Linked DNA regions of Homo sapiens: region 1 is linked to region 2. The links are contacts of gene promoters, found by promoter capture Hi-C in blood cells and fetal thymus (Javierre and others, 2016). All regions are on one chromosome and are shown on one strand. The core of a region is centred on a gene start or on the middle of the fragment in contact, and the rest is flanking DNA. Distances in the headings are between cores, read along the strand shown.

Region 1 (3,433 bases), core at 438-2,937, 360 kb before region 2:
CTTCCATAAGGTGATTCAACCATCTTCTATGGGCTCAGAGTCTTTTGAATCCAGGCAGAAGAGAGAATAAGGAACTCGCACCTGCTTCTTGAAAGTCTTCACCCTAAAGTGACATACATCACTTCTGCTCTCAGTCCATTGAACATAACTTGTCTTATGGCTTCAACTAGCTGCAAGGGCCTCTGGGAAATGTAGTCCTGGTCTAGGCAGTCAATAAACATCCTGCTGGCTCTGCCACAGAAGGCCTTTCTAAGATGTTCTTTGAGCTGAGACGTGAGAGCCAAAGTGTGAGAGCTACTTGAAAACTGTGAAAATGGAGTTCCCAAAGTGGGAACAGCAAGTGGAAAGACCCTGATGCTGGAATGTGCTCAAAGGAACAGTAAGAAATGAGCTTCTGGCTGGGCGTGATGGCTCATGCCTGTAATCCCAGCACTTTGGGAGGCTGAGGCAGGTGGATCACCTGAGGTTAGGAGTTTGAGACTAGCCTGACCAACATGGAGAAACCCCGTCTCTACTAAAAATACAAAAAAATCAGCCGGGTGTGGTGGTGCATGCCTGTAATCTCAGCTACTTGGGAGGCTGGGGCAGGAGAATCGCTTGAACCCAGGGGGCAGAGGTTGTTGTGAGCTGAGATCGTGCCATTGCACTCCAGCCTGGGCAACAAAAGTGAAACTCCGTCTCAAAAAAAAAAAAAAAAAGAACTTTTATTTTGTGAGCTACTGAAATGGTGGGGTTTATTTGTTATAGCAGCTAGCATGACTCTAAATAATATACCTTGTAGACATCATTGCCCACTAGCTCAGTGTATCTCAAACTACTTGTAACTATGGAGAAGGATCATTTGTTTGATGTTTCCAACCTGTCATGGACCAATCCTTTTGGTCTCTACCCTGTTCAACAAGAAAATCCATTGATCCTATACTTGGATGTCATGGATATGTCAAATTGCTGTGTTTCTAAACACTTGCTGGCAATTTCCGTACTTATCTGGTGGCACACCATTGCAGACACCAGCTCGGTTGGGGAGACCCTAACCCACTGGTGCTAGAGGAATTAAACACACACACACAGAAATATAGAGGTGTGAAGTGGGAAATCAGGGGTCTCACAGCCTTCAGAGCTGAGAGCCCCGAACAGAGATTTACCCACATATTTAGTAACAGCAAACCAGTCATTAGCATTGTTTCTATAGATATTAAATTAAAAGTATCCCTTATGGGAAACGAAGGGATGGGCCGAATTAAAGGAATAGGTTGGGCTAGTTAACTGCAGCAGGAACACGTCCTTAAGACACACATCGCTCATGCTATTGTTTGTGGCTTAAGAATGCCTTTAAGTGGTTTTCCACTCTGGGCGGGCCAGGTGTTCCTTGCCCTCATTCCCGTAAACCCACAACCTTCCAGCTTGGGCGTTAGGGCCATTATGAACATGTCACAGTGCTGTGGAGATTTTGTTTGTGGCCAGTCTTGGGGTCAGTTTATGGCCATATTTTGGGGGGCTTGCTCCCAACACCATAATAGTTGCTGGACCAGTCCTGGCACCACTTTAGCTTCTTATTCTGTTTTATTTTTCTCTATAGCATTTACCATTCCCTGTAATTATCTTGTTTATTTTTGGGTATACTTGTTTATAGTTTTCTTTCCCACTAGAATGTAAGCTCCATCAGAGAAGAAGTTGGCCTTACTTCTCTTGCTCCGTTGTGTTCCTCGTTCCCAAGACAATGCCTGGGACACAGTAGGTGCTCAGAAAGTATTTGTTAAATAATGAGTATTTGTTAAATAAAAATCATGGCTGGGAACAGTGGCTCACGCCTATAATCCCAGCACTTTGGGAGGCCAAGGCAGACAGATTGGTTGAGCTCAGGAGTTTGAGACCAGTCTGGGCAGCATGGCAAAACCCTGTCTCTACAAAAAATATAAAAATTTGCTGGGCATGGTGGCATGCACCTGTAGTCCTAGCTACTCAGGAGGCTGAGGCATGAGAATCACTTGAACCTGGGAGCCAGAAGTTGCAGTGAGCTGAGATTGTGCCACTGCATTCCAGTCTGGGTGACATAGTGTGACCCTGTCTCAAAAAAAAATTTAATAAAATGAAATAAAAATAACAAGGAGGGTGGGGGGAAGGAGGCAATCCATATCTGTTACAGAGGCTCTCTACAATCAGAACCTGACCAGAACTCTAACCAGTTTGTTAACAGCCATTGAGATCCCCTCAAGAGCTGTGGTTTTTTGATAGACCATGGTAGCTCAGATTAGATGTCAACTGAAGAATCATGAGGTTTTGATATGGTTTGGCTGTCCCCACCCAAATCTCATCTTGAATTGTAGTTCCCCAAATCCCCATGTGTTGTGGGAGGGACCTAGTGGGAGGTAATCGAATCATGGGGGTGGTTACCCCCATGCTGCTGTTCTTGAGATAGTGAGTTCTCACGAGATCTGATGGTTTTATAAGGGGCTTTTCCCTCTTTGCTTGGCACTTCTCCTTCCTGCTGCCATCTGAGGAAGGACGTTTTTGCTTTCTTTTCCACCATGATTTTAAGTTCCCTGAGGCCTCCCCAACCCTGCGGAACTGTGAGTCAATTAAACCTCTTTCCTTTATAAATTACCCAGTCTTGGGCAGTTCTTTTCAGCAGCGTGAGAACAGACTAATACAGGTTTACAAATTTGGAAAGGAGAGCTTTATTTCTCATAAAGAGTTGCAGCCTGCAGCCGGGCCATCTCACAGGCCGAGAAGTGTAGCCTCCGGTAGAAGCTGAGAGCAGGCACCTCCAGTAAGGGAAGGATAAGGTCAGAGTTAACGCTGAATGGCTTGGCTCAGTATACATATTCAACAGGTTATAGGAGGAGCTATGAATATTCATGAAGGGAAGGTACAGCACATGTGTAGTAACATCCCATATTCACTTTTTTTTTTTTTTTTTTTTTTTTTTGAGATGGAGTCTTACTCTGTCACCCAGGCTGTAGTGTAGTGGTGCGATCTCAGCTCACTGCAACCTCTCTTTCCCAGGGTTCAAGCAATTCTCCTGCCTCAGCCTCATGAGTAGCTGGGATTACAGGCACCCATCACCATGCCTGGCTAATTTTTTTATTTTTAGTAGAGACAGGGTTTCACCATGTTGGCCAGGCTGGTCTCAAACTCCTGACCTCAGGTGATCCGCCCACCTTGGCCTCCCAAAGTGCTGGGATTACAGGCGTGAGCCACCGTGCCAGGCCCCATGTTCACTTTGGAGTGGAGACTTAACACTTAAATGTATTACAATTAGGCCCTATACATCAAAAGGTGATGCAGAGGACACAAAGGCCCTTTGTGTGCAGCCTCTGTAGACTGGCCAGAGCCACACCCCGTGGTTAGGTGGCCTCTGATCAGGAAGGAATGCTGGTCAGTTGTTATGTTGAAACCACAAAAGGGAGGAGCAGCCATGTATTTCAGGCCA
Region 2 (3,542 bases), core at 35-2,534:
TGCTGTGAGCTCAGGGAGGTGCTTCAACAGGAACGCCACCTGTCACCAGCTTGACACTCGCAAGTATGTGGTTTACAGAGTGCCTGGCACACATTGTTCCTTAATTGCCAGGACCAGTGAGGTAGCCACGATAATCATGCCCATTTTATAGACCCGTGGGGCTGAAGTGGCAGGTGCACGGTGACACGGCCAGTTTCCTTGGACTCGCCCGCCATCCCTCTTCCCAGCCTGTGGCCTCTGAACCACACCAGTCCCCTCTTCCCTTTGCCATTCACCCACAACAAGGGGCCTCTGTGTGGCCTGGGCAGGCAAGCCCAGATGGCCATGTTGATGCCCCCAGCGCCCAAGGCCCCACTTCAAAACCGACTACGAAGGATTCCAGGTTACCCGGGGCCTTTTGAATTTGGAGGGAAAACCATGGAGTTGTTTGCCTGAACTGCTTTGCCATGGAGGGACTAAAGCCCCCACAATATCTCCATCAGCCTCCCACCACCTCACCCTACTCTAAAGTCATTTCAAATGACTGAACCAAAAGTGTCTCGGGAAAGACCTCATCACCACCCAAATATCCCATCCAGGTGAAAGCCTGCCAGCAGAAGTCGGTTTCAAGTCCGTAAATCCATCCCACCAGACTCTTACGCACGTATAATCCGGAGCCCGCGGGAGGTGGGTGGGGTGCGGGGGATGGGGAGTCCCCAGTCCCACACCCACCCGAGGCCTAGGCATTGTTCCTTCGTCTCTGTCCCTCTAGGAAGCGTCTGATCCAGCCCTCCCGTGCCCTCTCCCCGTTACTCCAAAACTTAGAAATCCCCGGGTGCGCCCAAGTCCCATCCCGGCTTTTCTTTTCCCAGAGATCGGGCGGTCTTCCACTCCCTCCCCACAAAGAGTTCCATTCTCCCTGCCGCTCCGGGTCTCACCGTCCAGGGAGTTTCACTTCCTGCTATCTTCCAGATAAGGGCGCGGGGAGCGCTCCCCGGCACAAATGGGGAATTCCTCTCACTCCCGCGCGCAACAGATCGCCCAAGACCCAGGGGATCGGAAGGTCCCAGCCTCTGAGACCCCCGCTTCCCGCTTCCCGCCGCCTCCAACTCCATCCATCCCCCTCTACAGTTCCCTCCGGCGTTCCGCAGCGTCAGAGGCCCCGTGCCCCGTACCTGTGCACCAGGTGCTAAGCAGAAGCCACACGAAGACGACCGCGTCCCGGCCTGCGGCGGCCGGGTGGGAGCCCAGCCCTCTGGAGAGCCCGCCGGCCAACAGCGCCATCGCGGCCGTCTGGGCGCGTCTGGCCCGCGCGTCCCTTCCAAAGTACCTTAGGGGGCGCGGCGCGCACCAAGGCCAGGAGGGGTGCACGCTCCTCCCCTTCCCACTTCCGTTCCTTGTCCCTACTCCAAGTCCGTCCTGTTGCATTCTGGAAGTTTTAATGAGCGTAAACGACGTGGACAAAGGGCATGCTTTCAGATATGGGGGAGAAAGGTGCTTGACCCGCCGCGGTCCTCCGAGCCACACTCCACCCGCTGCGCGCTCCGGTGAATGGTTCGGCCCAGGTACACAAGGGTGGGAGCCGAGGGCTGGGCTTAGGGGTGAGCGGCGGGGAGGGGTTCCTCTGCCTCCCTCCCCGGAAGTGGGCTGACCCAGGTGCGCTCCGTCCCCCAGGGCCCGAACCAAGTGACTGGCCCGCTGGGAGGGCGCCTGCGGACCACAGGTCCCTTCCGGCCCCCATCTGCTCCGGCCAAACCAAGCGCACCGAGATCCATGCAACCGAGACCCACTTGGAGCGATTCACCTGTTGAGATAGGGCGGGTCCCGCCGCGCACCTGTTCCCTCCCTGCCCAAACCCCTCTCCCCGGCTGGCGATGGACCCGCCTAGGTGCGCCCTGCCGGGAGGAGCGAGTCTAAGCAAAGTCCTGGCTGGGAGAGGCTTGTTGGTGGCGCCTGACTTCTCCACTTCCACTGGGGTTCCTCCGGACCGGGTGGAGGGGGGGCGCTTCGGGCCTCCTGTGTCTCCCAGTTAGATGACCTGAGGAACCCTCTAAAGTCCCCGGAAGGGAAGCTCTGCCCCCTCAGGGATGCCCAAGGGGAATCAGGGCCAGGAAAAGTTGGAATTCCACTTCGGAAGTTTTCGCCACCTCCCCCACCCGTTCCCAACTTGTGGTTCGGCCCCTGGGCATCCCTAGCCCCCGGGTCAGCCCTCCGGAAATTCTGGCTCTTAAAGGGGCCGAGCGAAGGCGCGGGGCTTGGGACCGGTTTCCGCTTAGGAATTCCCGGAACGAGCCACCTGCGACCGAGGGCGGGGGCGCGGCGCGGCGATCAGCCTGCGCAGCGCTGGGCGTGACTCTGCTGTCTCCAGGTGGCGGCGAGGGAAAGCGCATCCTGGGGGAACCCTGGGCGCTTCCTCGCGTTAGACTCCCCCAGGTTGCCAACTGGCCAGTGGCTGGTTTCGGTACCCAGGCGTGCTTTGTTCTACTGGCCCTGTTAAAACTCAAGCCAGATCACGTCCACCTGCTCACAGCCCTCCTGTGGCTCCTCCTCACTCTCAGCAGAAACTGACCTTCCCCCTCTTATCTCACCTCCTCCCACTCTCTCTGGCTTACTCAGCTTCGGACACCCTGGCCTCCTCGCTGTTTCCAACTATACTTCTCACAGTCCTCAGAGCCATCGCCCGTGCTACTCCCTCTGCCAGAACACCCTTCCCGCAGATGTCCACATGATCTTCCTCCTCCTGTAGGACACCATTGCAGTGACACCTTCCCTGGCCACTTTTTATAAAATTTCAACCCGTTCACGTCCCTTCATCGTTTAAAAAAATATTTTTATGATAAAATATGCAAACTATAATATTTATCGCTTTAACCACTTCAAGTGTAAAATTCAGTGGCATTAAGTATATTCACAATGTCGTGTACCAATCACCACTCTTTATCCCCGAAACTGTTTCATCATCCCCAACATAAACTCTGTGACCATTAAACAGTAACTCCCCATTCCCTGCTACCTGTGCCCCTAGTAATTTCTATTCTACTTTGCTTACCAAATTGCCCATTCTAGGTGCCTCATATAAGTGGAATCGTCTAACATTTGTCCTGTGTCTAGTTTATTTCACAAAGAATAATGTTTTCAAGGTCCATCCATGTTGTAGTATGTCGAAGCCATGTAGCATGCAGTAAGATCAAAATTTCTTTTTACAGCGGACTAGTGTACCATTGTATGTATATGCTACGTTTTATTTATCCATTCATTTGTGGATGGACCTAGGTTGTTTCTACCTTTTGACTATTGTAAATAGTGCAGCTGTGAACACTGGTGTACAAATATCTGCTTTCATTTCTTTTGAATATATGCCTAAGAATGGAATTGCTGGGTGACTTGGTAGTTCTATTTTTAACCTTTTGAGGAACTGCCAAACTGTTTTCCCCAATGACTGCACTATTGTACATTCCCACCAGCAATGCACGGAGGATTCCAATTTCTCCACATCCCCACCAAAACTTATTATCCATTTTCTTGATTATGGCCATCCTGGTTAGTGTGAAGTGGCATCTCAT

What was found. Contacts are between HindIII fragments. The CHiCAGO score rates a contact against its expected background, and 5 or more counts as called.
Region 1: a fragment that was not itself captured here is called in contact with the fragment with the promoter of LSR in region 2 in 1 of 17 cell types (naive B cells); the score reaches 5.3 in naive B cells.

Annotation. Positions count from the first base shown.
Region 1 is chr19:35,605,195-35,608,627 of GRCh38, reverse strand. HAUS5-DT (HAUS5 divergent transcript) reads left to right here. Exons shown (of 2, transcript NR_186318.1): 2 at 1-239. Among named protein-coding and RNA genes, the nearest start is that of HAUS5-DT, 5.8 kb to the left of the region's middle. The HindIII fragment of the contact is 3,634 bases long and covers 1-3,433 here.
Region 2 is chr19:35,246,744-35,250,285 of GRCh38, reverse strand. LSR (lipolysis stimulated lipoprotein receptor) reads right to left here and starts at 1,284. Exons shown (of 10, transcript NM_205834.4): 1 at 1,155-1,284. The coding sequence starts at 1,263. RefSeq lists silencers at 1,121-1,190, 1,601-1,680 and enhancers at 793-1,594, 1,595-2,397, 2,531-2,700. The HindIII fragment of the contact is 9,039 bases long and covers 1-3,542 here.